Linked DNA regions of Homo sapiens: region 2 is linked to region 1. Evidence: promoter capture Hi-C in 16 types of primary human blood cells and fetal thymus (Javierre and others, 2016). All regions are on one chromosome and are shown on one strand. Each heading gives the region's core, a stretch centred on a gene start or on the middle of the fragment in contact. The rest is flanking DNA. Distances are from core to core; before and after follow the strand shown.

The links. Contacts are between HindIII fragments. The CHiCAGO score rates a contact against its expected background, and 5 or more counts as called.
Region 2: a fragment that was not itself captured here is called in contact with the fragment with the promoter of LAMP2 in region 1 in 1 of 17 cell types (fetal thymus); the score reaches 5.1 in fetal thymus.

The regions. Positions count from the first base shown.
Region 1 is chrX:120,467,986-120,473,300 of GRCh38, reverse strand. LAMP2 (lysosomal associated membrane protein 2) reads left to right here and starts at 4,005. Exons shown (of 9, transcript NM_002294.3): 1 at 4,005-4,195. The coding sequence starts at 4,132. RefSeq lists a silencer at 3,803-4,067. The HindIII fragment of the contact is 7,034 bases long and covers 14-5,315 here.
Region 2 is chrX:120,734,233-120,739,749 of GRCh38, reverse strand. No RefSeq gene overlaps it. Among named protein-coding and RNA genes, the nearest start is that of C1GALT1C1, 110 kb to the right of the region's middle. RefSeq lists an enhancer at 2,064-3,263. The HindIII fragment of the contact is 182 bases long and covers 2,436-2,617 here.

The DNA.
Region 1 (5,315 bases), core at 2,756-5,255:
CCTTTGTGAAGCTTAGATCGGAGGGGATCTCACAGATTTCCTCAAACACTAACCCCAGTCTCACGTATACATCTGCATCTACCACCGAAAGCCAAGGAAAAGCTCCTTCAATCTGGGGCAGGGTAATGGGAGACTGTATAAGAAAAGGGATCTTTCTCACAGTGTTTTTTGGAGAAAACATTAAACATTTCTGAGTATGGAAGCTCAGTGCAAACAAAGACTTGAGAATTTTTAGCCTATTTATGCTGACAAAATACCCAGCATGTATCTACAACTTTCAAAACATTGTTGTGTCTCACGACGATGCCTGTCCCAGTCAAGGAGCCAGCATTTGTATTTGCCTGAGGAAAAGGTTGTGATGGGGGTGAGGGTGGATTTCGCTTGTAAGGCTGCTCATATTTCACTGTGTTTATTTTTTTAATTTGATGACACCTTCAAGAGATAAAGGGCGACAATTTATTACACCAGATATTTGACAAATTGGGACAGTATTTTATTTTATTTTAATTGTTAGAGACAGGGTCTCACTCATTTGCATAGGCTGGAGTGCAGTGGCGCCATCAAAGAGCACTGCAGCCTCAACCTCCTGGGCTCAAGCGACCCTCCCATCTCAGCCTCCCTGGTATCTGGGACTACAGGTGTGCACCACCATGGCTGGCTATCCTTATATATAAATATATACATATATTTTCAGAGACAGGGTCTTGCTCTGTCACCCAGGCTGGAGTGCAGTGGTGCAAACATGGCTCACTGCAGCCTCCACCTCCTGGACTTGAACAATCCTCTTGCCTCAGCCCCCAAGTAGCTGGGACTACAGGTGCACGCCACCACCCCCAGCTAATTTTTAATTTTTTGTAGAGATGGGGTTTCACCATGTTGGTCAGACTGGTCTCAAACTCCTGAGCTCAGGCAATCTGCCTGCTTTGGCTTCCCAAAGTGTTGGGATTACAGGTTTGAGCCACTGCACCTGGCCAATTTTAAATAAATGAGCATTTACTCACATAGAATCCTTGAATTATAAACCTGATGCCAACTTAGAGATCATCTGAGGCCCACCAATATTGTTTTGGGGAGTTTTGAGAAAAACACCATGCCCAGGCCTGACTTCAGATAAACTGAATCAGAATCTCAAGGGATGGGACCAAGGGGAATTTTCCACTTTTAAAGCTCCACAAGTGATTCCAACATGCAGCCAGGATCAAGAAACAGCTCTAGTCTCATTATTTCATTTTACCAATAAAGATATAGAAGTTCAAACAGATGAAGTGACCTGCCTAAGATCACACTGCCAGTAAGTGGTGTCTCACAACCAACTCCTCTGACTGCTAACCCAATGTTCTTTCCACTATGTTCTTTTTTTGTTTCTTCTTATAGAAAGAGCTTAGGGTTTTACTGAACATTAAAGTTATGCGATTTACAATTGAAAGAGAAGAGCTAGAGTCCAGGAAGTATTGGTGGGGCATCTTCAGAGGGCTCAACTCAGTTGTGGGTTCTCTGAAGACTACTATGCCCAGGACATAGCTCCTGCCAAGTCTCATTGATGGCAGTCAAAAGACATTTTGCTAAAGGCAATGACTAACACTGTATGCAGTGTTCATTAGTCTTGTGTTGGGTCACTTGTTCACAAATTAGTTTCACCTATGGTAGTAAACATTCATTGACAAATGTTCTCACTTTCAGGAATTAATTACATTAAAGCAAACAATAGTGGGGCAGATCGGTGCTTCTTAATATTTGAATTAGGGTAGGGGTTAGGGCAAGGAGTCACAGGTCCCATTGGAGAACTAGTGAAAACTACAAACTTCCCCACAAAAATACACATACATAAATGTTGCATGTAATTTCTGAGGATTCACCGACACCTCTCCCATCCTGTCTAAACTCATACATAAACTCCAGATTAAAATCTCCTGGACTAGATGATTTTGAAGCTCTCTTTCAGTGTTTTTCTCAAAGTGTGGTCCATGGACCACAGAATCAGAATCACTTGGGGTGTTTGTTAAAGAAGTGATTAATAAGACTGCCACAGACCTACTGTTTCAGAATCTCTGGGGAATGAGGTACAGGAATCTGTATGTTAAAAAAAAAAAACCCAAAACCAGATGGTTCTTTTGGAAACTAACACTTGAGAATCAGTGCTTTATTCCAACTCAAGATTTTTAAATGCTTTCATCTGTTGAATATTTTAGGTTTTGTCTGTTCATCTATCAAGTATAGCAAACAGTATGCTTAGTATGAACTCATTACAGAATATTTGTGTGTATGTACATAGGAAAAATATCTGGAAGTATAGATGTGGGTGTGTGTATATATGTGTGTAAATATATATAATAATGTTAATAGTAGGAATACAGATGATCTCTATTTTTCCGCTTTATCCTTCTGTTTTATTTCTCTCATTTTTTTCTTCCTGTGTTTAAAAAAGATGCTTCTTGTTTCTGAGCTCAATTCCCCCACCTGAGAACAGGGTGCTGTAACTAGGTGAATTTCAAGATCATGTCTTGTTCCGATGGTCCGTGACTCCATACTACCCCCTAGGTTCCCTCGTCCATCTCACAGCATGAACTGCATAGGTAACAACAGTGTTTGGAGAATAAGCATGTATTATTTTTGTATGTATTACGTTTGAGATGCCTAGCAACCGTTTTTGTGCCCGCAAAATTTTTCTCTTCTTTGTCAAGGAGCCAAAACGGAAATAGTCTACTATCTACGGCCCTCAAAAGTTCCTCCTCTCTCCTTAGCCTTAGAAAATACCGTCCGCCATAGGCATGGGCAAAGACCTCATGGCTAAAACACCAAAAGCAATCGCAACAAAAGTCAAAATTGACAAATGGGATCTAATTAAAAGAACTTCTGCACAGCAAAAGAAATTAGCATTAGCGTGAACAGGCAACCTGCAGAATGGGAGAAAATTTTTGCAATCTACCCATCTGACAAAGGTCTAATATCCAGAATCTACAAGGACCTTAAACAAATTTACAAGAAAAAAACAACCCCATCAAAAAGTGGGCAAAGGATATGACCAGACACTTCTCAAAAAAAGACATTTATGCAGCAACAAACATGAAAAAAAGCTCATTATCACTGATCATTAGAGAAAGGCAAATCAAAACCACAATGAGATACCATCTCACGCCAGTCAGAATGGTGATTATTAAAAAATCAGGAAACAATAGATGCTGGCGAGGCTGAGGAAAAATAGGAATGCTTTTACACTGTTGGTGGGAGTGTAAATTAGTTCAACTATTGTGGCAGACAGTGTGGCGATTCCTCAAAAATCTAGAACCAGAAATACCATTTGACGCATGCACACGTATGTTTATTGCAGCACTATTTACAATAGCAAAGACTTGGAACCAACCCAAATGCCCATCAATGATAGACTAGATAAAGAAAACGTGGCACATATATGCCATGGAATACTATGCAGCCATAAAAAAATGAGATCATGTCCTTTGCAGGGACATGGATGAAGCTGGAAGCCATCATCCTTAGCAAACTAACACAGGAACAGAAAACAAAACACTGCATGTTCTCACTCATAAGTGGGAGTTGAACAATGAGAACACATGGACACAGGGAGGGGAACAACACACACGGGGGCCTGTCAAGGGGTGGGGGCCAAGGGGAGGGAGAGCATTAGGAGAAATACCTAATGCATGTGGGGCTTAAAACCTAGATGACGGGTTGATAGGTGCAGTAAACCACCATGGCACATGTATACCTATGTAACAAAGCTGCACATTCTGCACATGTATCCCAGAACTTAAAGTAAAATTAAAAAAAAAAAAAAAAAAGAAAGAAAAAGAAAAAGAAAATGCCGTCCGCGCATATCTCTCAGGAGCATAGGAAGGGCTGTGAACCAAAAAGCCAGGGCGTGGTCGCCCCGCCCACCGGCCGCTACATCACCACCCCTCTCGCCGCTTTCAAGCGCGGAGATTGGCTGTAAGCAAGAAAGAGCCCCGCCCCTAGTCTTATGACTCGCACTGAAGCGCCGATTCCTGGCTTTTGCAAGGCTGTGGTCGGTGGTCATCAGTGCTCTTGACCCAGGTCCAGCGAGCCTTTTCCCTGGTGTTGCAGCTGTTGTTGTACCGCCGCCGTCGCCGCCGTCGCCGCCTGCTCTGCGGGGTCATGGTGTGCTTCCGCCTCTTCCCGGTTCCGGGCTCAGGGCTCGTTCTGGTCTGCCTAGTCCTGGGTGAGTTGTCGGGCCCTCCCGATTAGTCTGTCCGCCTGGGCCCGGGGCACCAGTTCAAAGCTACAACCTGAAAGACTGGTCCGAGGGGGAGGGGGTTGAGAGGCTCAGCAGCTAACACTGGGCGGCGGCGGTTGGCCCGGGGAGGCAAGCGGTGACCTAGAGAAGGCCTGACCGACGGATGGCGGGGAAGAAGGGCCCAGGAGAGTAAGAAGGGGCCGGTAACGGGGGGTGGACGCCGAGGGAGTAGGCTGGGAGGAGTGAAGCGTGGAGAGGGTCAGCGTGGAAAGAGTAACTTGGGGAAAACACTGAGGAGTGAGCGTAGGAGGGTGGTACATGCAGATTTTGGGCGCCAGAGACAATTAGGAGAGTCTTGGTTTGCTGAGATCAGGGAAGAGTTTTGAAGATGGTGGAAAAACTATGGGGTGAGATAGGAAATTAAGAGAGAAGACCATGCCTGCCTGGAGTAGCTTGGGAGAAGTGTGTGGGTGGGGGACAGATGGGACAGATAGGACAGTAGAGCCTGAGGGGCAGGGGCAGTGACAGGGTTGGGCATTTTGAAGGTTGGAATTTGAGACTGTGAAGAAAGGATGATTCAAGAGATTAGGAGTGATGCTGGGTTTGAGTTTGGTAGTCATAGTTTTAAGGGCGAAGGAACCTAAGGTAGCTGGGGCAATTTCCAGGAAAGAAAACTTGGACCCAACCTCTGGAGACTAAGGGGTTCAGGGGGAACTTTGATGGGGAGTGCACATCTGACTTGGAGGTATTGAGGATGTCGATTTTCTCCCAGTTTTGCTACTTCCTCCCAGCCAGACGCTGACAAAAAAATCCCCAGACGTTTCAGTTAGGAGGGCCTCCCAGATGTGAGGTTTTGGGGGTGGAGTATTTGAGTTTGGTAGACTACCTCTTTGCCTTCAGAGTTTCTTCTTTTCTTTCTTCCCCATCACACAGCTAGCCTATTACCTCATATTTTGGGGGTGCAGGGAGCAGGTAGACAAACTTGCTAAGGATTGGGTTGTTACCAGGGCCTAAGAATGGCTGGATGGGGCCGGGCGTGGTGGCTCATGCCTGTAATCCCAGCACTTTGGGAGGCCGAGGTGGGTGTATCACCTGAGGTCAGGAA
Region 2 (5,517 bases), core at 1,277-3,776, 270 kb before region 1:
AGAATATAGAGCCCAGGTGAGGAGAAACACCTACTGTACTTAATGTTACAGTAGAGTACATGCCTTTCTAAATGTTCACTTTGGTTGAGGAGGACACTCAGTATCTGAAAGAAAAAGGGAGAGAACCTTGTAGTGAAGAATTGTAGCCAAAAGGGAGAGTTCAAGAATATTCACAGGCATAGATATCCCAACCAGGCAGAGATGACAACTTGACTCAGGTCCAGCCTTGCCTAGACATAGTGCCTTCATCATACTACAGATGTGGTTTCTTTTTGGATGTGGTTTCTGACTTTGTTTGAGCAGATGGCCCTGACAGAAAACTTAACATTATCTGCTGTTTATTATGCACTGCCCTGTAAGACCACCACATGTGTGATAGTCCCTACAATATAGGAAGGAGCCAATTGAAGAGTTCATATTTTGGGCAACTCTACTCCCTTTTTCCTACTCCAGAGTTTAGGGACAGCTGTTGAGCAAATGGAGGAGGCAGTTAGAACTAGCCCAGGGCTTCTCAAATTTTAGTGTACACATGATCACCTGCAGGTCTTGTTAAAATGCAGATTCTGACTCAGTAGGTTTGGGGTGGGATTCAGAGTTTGAATTTCTAAGAAGCTCCAAGGTAATGCTAATGCTATCAGTTGGGGGGACACACTTTAGATAGCAAGGCTATTTCTGCCATTCTGCATTCTAATACATTAACCTGCTTCCTCATAACCTGTGAAGTGCTGAACAAATATGAAGGAATCATATTGCACTTTTATTTGATGAACCTGCCAACCCTAAATAGAATGAACAAATAAGCCCCATGAAGGAGAGAGAAGAAGTGGTGGCTGCCCATTAACAACAACAACAACAGTAAAATTATACAGGCCAAGAGGGAGAGTTATATTTTCCCCAAGTTTCCTACAGCTGTTTATTGGTCATGGGGCGCATAAAACATCTTATGAATGTTTCACTGCCGAAGAAAAATTGCTTCAAGCTGAGCTAGGATAGGAGTTAGGTATTACCATGGATATGAATATATTTTCACAGTTCAGCTCAATTACCACATTGTTTATCATGTTGCTTTACAACATTGCAGACTATTAAAGCTACTTTTTCATTTTACAGTATAGGAAACTAAGGCTGGCCAGGCAGGTGATTTCAATTTGCTCAAAGTCACATGGCTAGTTAGTATCAGAACTGAACTAGAACCACCCAATGAGCACAGTGCTCTTTCTACTGCAAGGATTTGTTAAAATAGTGTCTGAACAGGGGAAAGATTTTAAGTTAATTGGTCACAAGTGGTCCCCATACCCTGCTGTGGGGAGCTTAGCGGAGGTTCCCTGAATAAAAACATAGTTTGGGACTGGAGAAGAAATTTTCCAGGCTCTCGGTCACTCAAACAAATAGACATCTTTTTGAGCATGGATTGCCCATTTGTTTATTCAACAAACACTTGTTGAGCCCTGTGCTGGCTGGGGATAGAAATTTTTTTAAAACCCACAGTCCCTGCCTTGACAGAGCTTAGAATCCACTGAGGAGAGACTGATGTATAAATACTAAGTTCAATAAACTCCCATAGCTATTGGGGGGGGGGGCACAAGAGATGGTTTCAGAAACGAAGTAATCAGCCAAAAAGGAAAGCAGGCCAGCTAATCACTGAGCATGATGTAAGGCAGAAACTTAAGTGCAGTATGGTCAGAGTTTAGTGTAAAGAGGGAGGGAGGGATCTTTGTAAGCTACAGAGTTCACGGAAGGCTTTTTGGAAAGGTTAAGTCTAGAAGTAAGCTTTGGAGTATGTGTAGGAATCATATAACCAGAGAGGATACTTCAGATGAGGAACAGCATGAGCAAAGGTAAAGATACAAGAAAGTATATTGTCTATTTGGGGATGGCCCTTCAGATATTAAGTTTAAAACTGTTCTTAAATCACCCTTCACCTTTTGCTTCTCTTTTGCCTTTCCTATAAGTACCTCTGGCCAGCAGGTTACATTTGAATTGTTTCTTTACTCTCCAACTTCACTCTTCATGCTCACTGTGCCTCTGGTAGTCTGCAAGGCCACCATGTACAGTTGTGCATGTTGTTCACTGCACAAAGGATACCCAGTCATGGAGGTGAATGGGGGCTGAAATCCATACTGCACTGTACTCACCAAGTAATGCTTTCCTTTCCTAGTTTGATACATGTGCTTGCTAGGCCATGCCCCCAACCCAAAAAGGAGCACTTTTTCCAGTTTACAGAAAGGTACCCTAGCAGTGGCTGAGGCACTAAATCATATGTAGATGAAAGGTAAATAAGTGAGGTAAATAAGATTTATCTCTGATTTGTTCCAGCTTCAAGTCTTTACAGCTGAAGCCACTAATGAAGCCACCACAGTTCCACCACAGTTTTTATGCTAATCATGACTAAAGTAGGAAAAGTAGCAAGAGCCCCAGGGACCCTTCAGGAAGCTTAGAAGTGTCACTTCCCTGGATCCTGCATGAGGTGACCCAGAGATGACCTATGCCTGATGTGGCTCCCTTGATTTCATTTCTCTCTAATCCTAAACTGGATGACTAAGTGGTACCATTTCCCCTGACTCAGTTATTCTTTCTCATAAGAAAACTACACTTCTGTATGACTCACAACCAAGCTTATTCCTTATTTCTTATCTCCCCTACCTGGCAGTACCACCAAAATCATCCTTAGAAATCAACTGGACACGCACTTGCCATACCCACCTACCATGGTTGGTAGTCTTGTGCCAAATCCTGACTCCCTTTTCCTTCCCACCTGTCCTGTGCCACCAAGAGCCACTCTTCCCCACAAGCTACCAATCGGAGCTTTCAGACCTCCAAGTTTCCCTGGCTTTATCAGGCTTAAAGGGCTAAGCCTCTATAATATAAAAACCCAATAGTACAGGGAGTCAAAGAACTCACCACTTGTCAAGTTTCTCTCCACTTGACAGTCCAGAGCACATAGGTGGCCTACTCAACTCATTCAGTCACTCATGGACTTGGGTTGATTCCTTCATGTTTCTCTGCCCTTCTGTAAGGCAACAGCCTTATCTGCCAGTTTCAAAGCTGAGTAATGTGTGCTATGGGCACATCCATATTTCTTCTGTTAGAGGAAAAAAGTAAAGAGAAGCACATGTGCAAAGTTTAAAGAGCTGGGCCTAGAAAAAGCACACATCACTCCTACTTACATTTCACTGGTCTCAGAGCCACACCAGACCACAAAGCGGGCTGGAAAATGTACGTAAGTACCTAGCTGGACATCCTCACCCTGGCTACAGGTCTATTATTAAGGAAGATGCCAAACTATCAGTAAAAAGCATCTATTTTGTCATAATTTTTTACCCATGATAGAAACTTCATGATCAAGTATAATAAAGTTCAACCAATTTAAATAGAATCAAACTTAATGTATTAATAAATGTGTTTAAAGCATAGCATATACTTTTCCCTTACGCACTGTTTCTCAAAGTGTGGTGCATGGACTCTGGGTGATCCAGGGCCACTGATCATTCCCAGAAACCTAGCCAGTGACAGAGGAAAAAGCAATAATATTATTTCTTTACATACCTTCCACATATTTGAGATGTAAGGCTAATTATGATTTTTTACAGCAATCACATTACATTCTTTTTGTCAAATTACATTCTTAACCATCCTTATGTATTTTTTTTTTGAGACATGATCTTGCTGTGTCACCCAAGCTGGAGTGCAGTGGTGCGATCCTGGCTCACTGCAACCTCCACCTCCCAGGCTCAAGCAATCCTCCCACCTCAGCCTCCCAAGTAGCTGGGACTACAGGCATTCACCACCACACCTGGATACCTTTGGTATTTTTTTGTGGAGACCAGGTTTAGCCATATTGCCCAGACTGGTCTTGAAGTCTTGAGCTCCAGTTAAGAGAATAAACTTCCGGCTGGGTGCGGTGGCTCACGCCTGTAATTCCAGCACTTTGGGAGGCCGAGGTGGGTGGATTGCCTGAGGTTAGGAGTTTGAGACCAGCCTGACCAACATGGTAAAACCCCATCTCTACTAAAAATACAAAAATTAGCCAAGCGTGGTGGCACATGCCTGTAATCCCATCTACTCAGGAGGCTGAGGCAAGAGAATCACTTGAACCCAGGAGGCAGATGTTGCAGTGAGCCGAGATCATGCTACTGCACTCCAGCCTGGGTAACAGAGAAAGACTCTGTCTCAAAAAAAAAAAAAAAAAAGAAAAAACTTTTGAGGAGGTCGAGGACCCCGAGAAATGAGGGGGTTTGCCTAATGTCAAGCACTGGGTGTGCAAACCTGCAGCTGCTGTGACAGTTTCTGGCAGTGAGTCTCTGACACGAACAGCTCCCTCTGTTCAGGGAGGACCCGGGCACCCTCACTTTGAGTCTTGGTCTTACTTTTCATCTAAAAGGGTGGAGCGGATCCCCAGCTTTTTCAGTTCTTCCACCAGGTCCCCATTCTGGTGCATCTGGGCTCCATTCCTTTGTTCTTCCCTCTAGCTGAGGAAAAATAACCACTAACCCTGAGGAGACAGCCTGTGAGGTTTAGCTCATAACTGACATGTGGGTCAAGTGAGGCAAACTGAATAGACTCCAACATCATAGCCTGGCATTGCTATTTACCCCCCTCTAGTAAAAACAAAATTCCATCTAGTTCATGACATCTGAAAGGAGGTATCTCACGCTGCCTGCTTGGAGGGCAATTCATTTGGAAATCTCTCTGGGAAAGCACAGAGCAGAGCTGATTTATGGCACCACCACAGGGTATCACTGCAAGCATCAGGACCAAGTGGAGGAAGTGCCACTGCCCAGCCCTGAGGCCAGCATTCCAGCCTGTGAACAAATCCTGTGGGTTGGAATGCTGCTGCTAACCCAATGAGATGGACTGCTGGCCCACGCGGCAGCCTCTGACAACACTTAACTGTGAGAGACCTGGGCTCTGGGGAGGCCTCTTCCTGCTGAGTCACGGCGATGTGACCACCAGGGTGGGAACCGAGCCCAGGAAAAGTTCTTTCTGGACTAGGTCGACCCTTGTGCAGATTACTGGTTCATGCTGAGTGCTTTTCCCTGAGACATCAGGGCCTCTGTCACCCTTTCCAGACCAGCCCCTCTGGCCACTGCCATGCCAGGATGTATCTTATGGCACTCTTGGGACTCTAGGGTGAAGAACCCACCAGATTTAGAAATTTTGATGACTCAGGTACATGGAAATGTGAAGGTCTCTCAAGCTATCAACAAAGCAAACAAATTTAAAAAAATGAACAAAATCTCTATCAGGGCCTGGCGCGGTGGCTCACGCCTGTAATCCCAGCACTTTGGGAGGCCGAGATGGGCGGATCACAAGGTCAGCAGATCGAGACCATCCCGGCTAACACGGTGAAACCCCATCTCTACTAAAAATACGAAAAAAAATTAGCCGGGCGTGGTGGCGGGCGCCTGTAGTCCCAGCTACTCAGGAGACTGAGGCAGGAGAATGGCGTGAACCCGGGAGGCGGAGCTTGCAGTGAGCCGAGACAGCGCCACTGCACTCCAGCCTGGGCGACAGAGC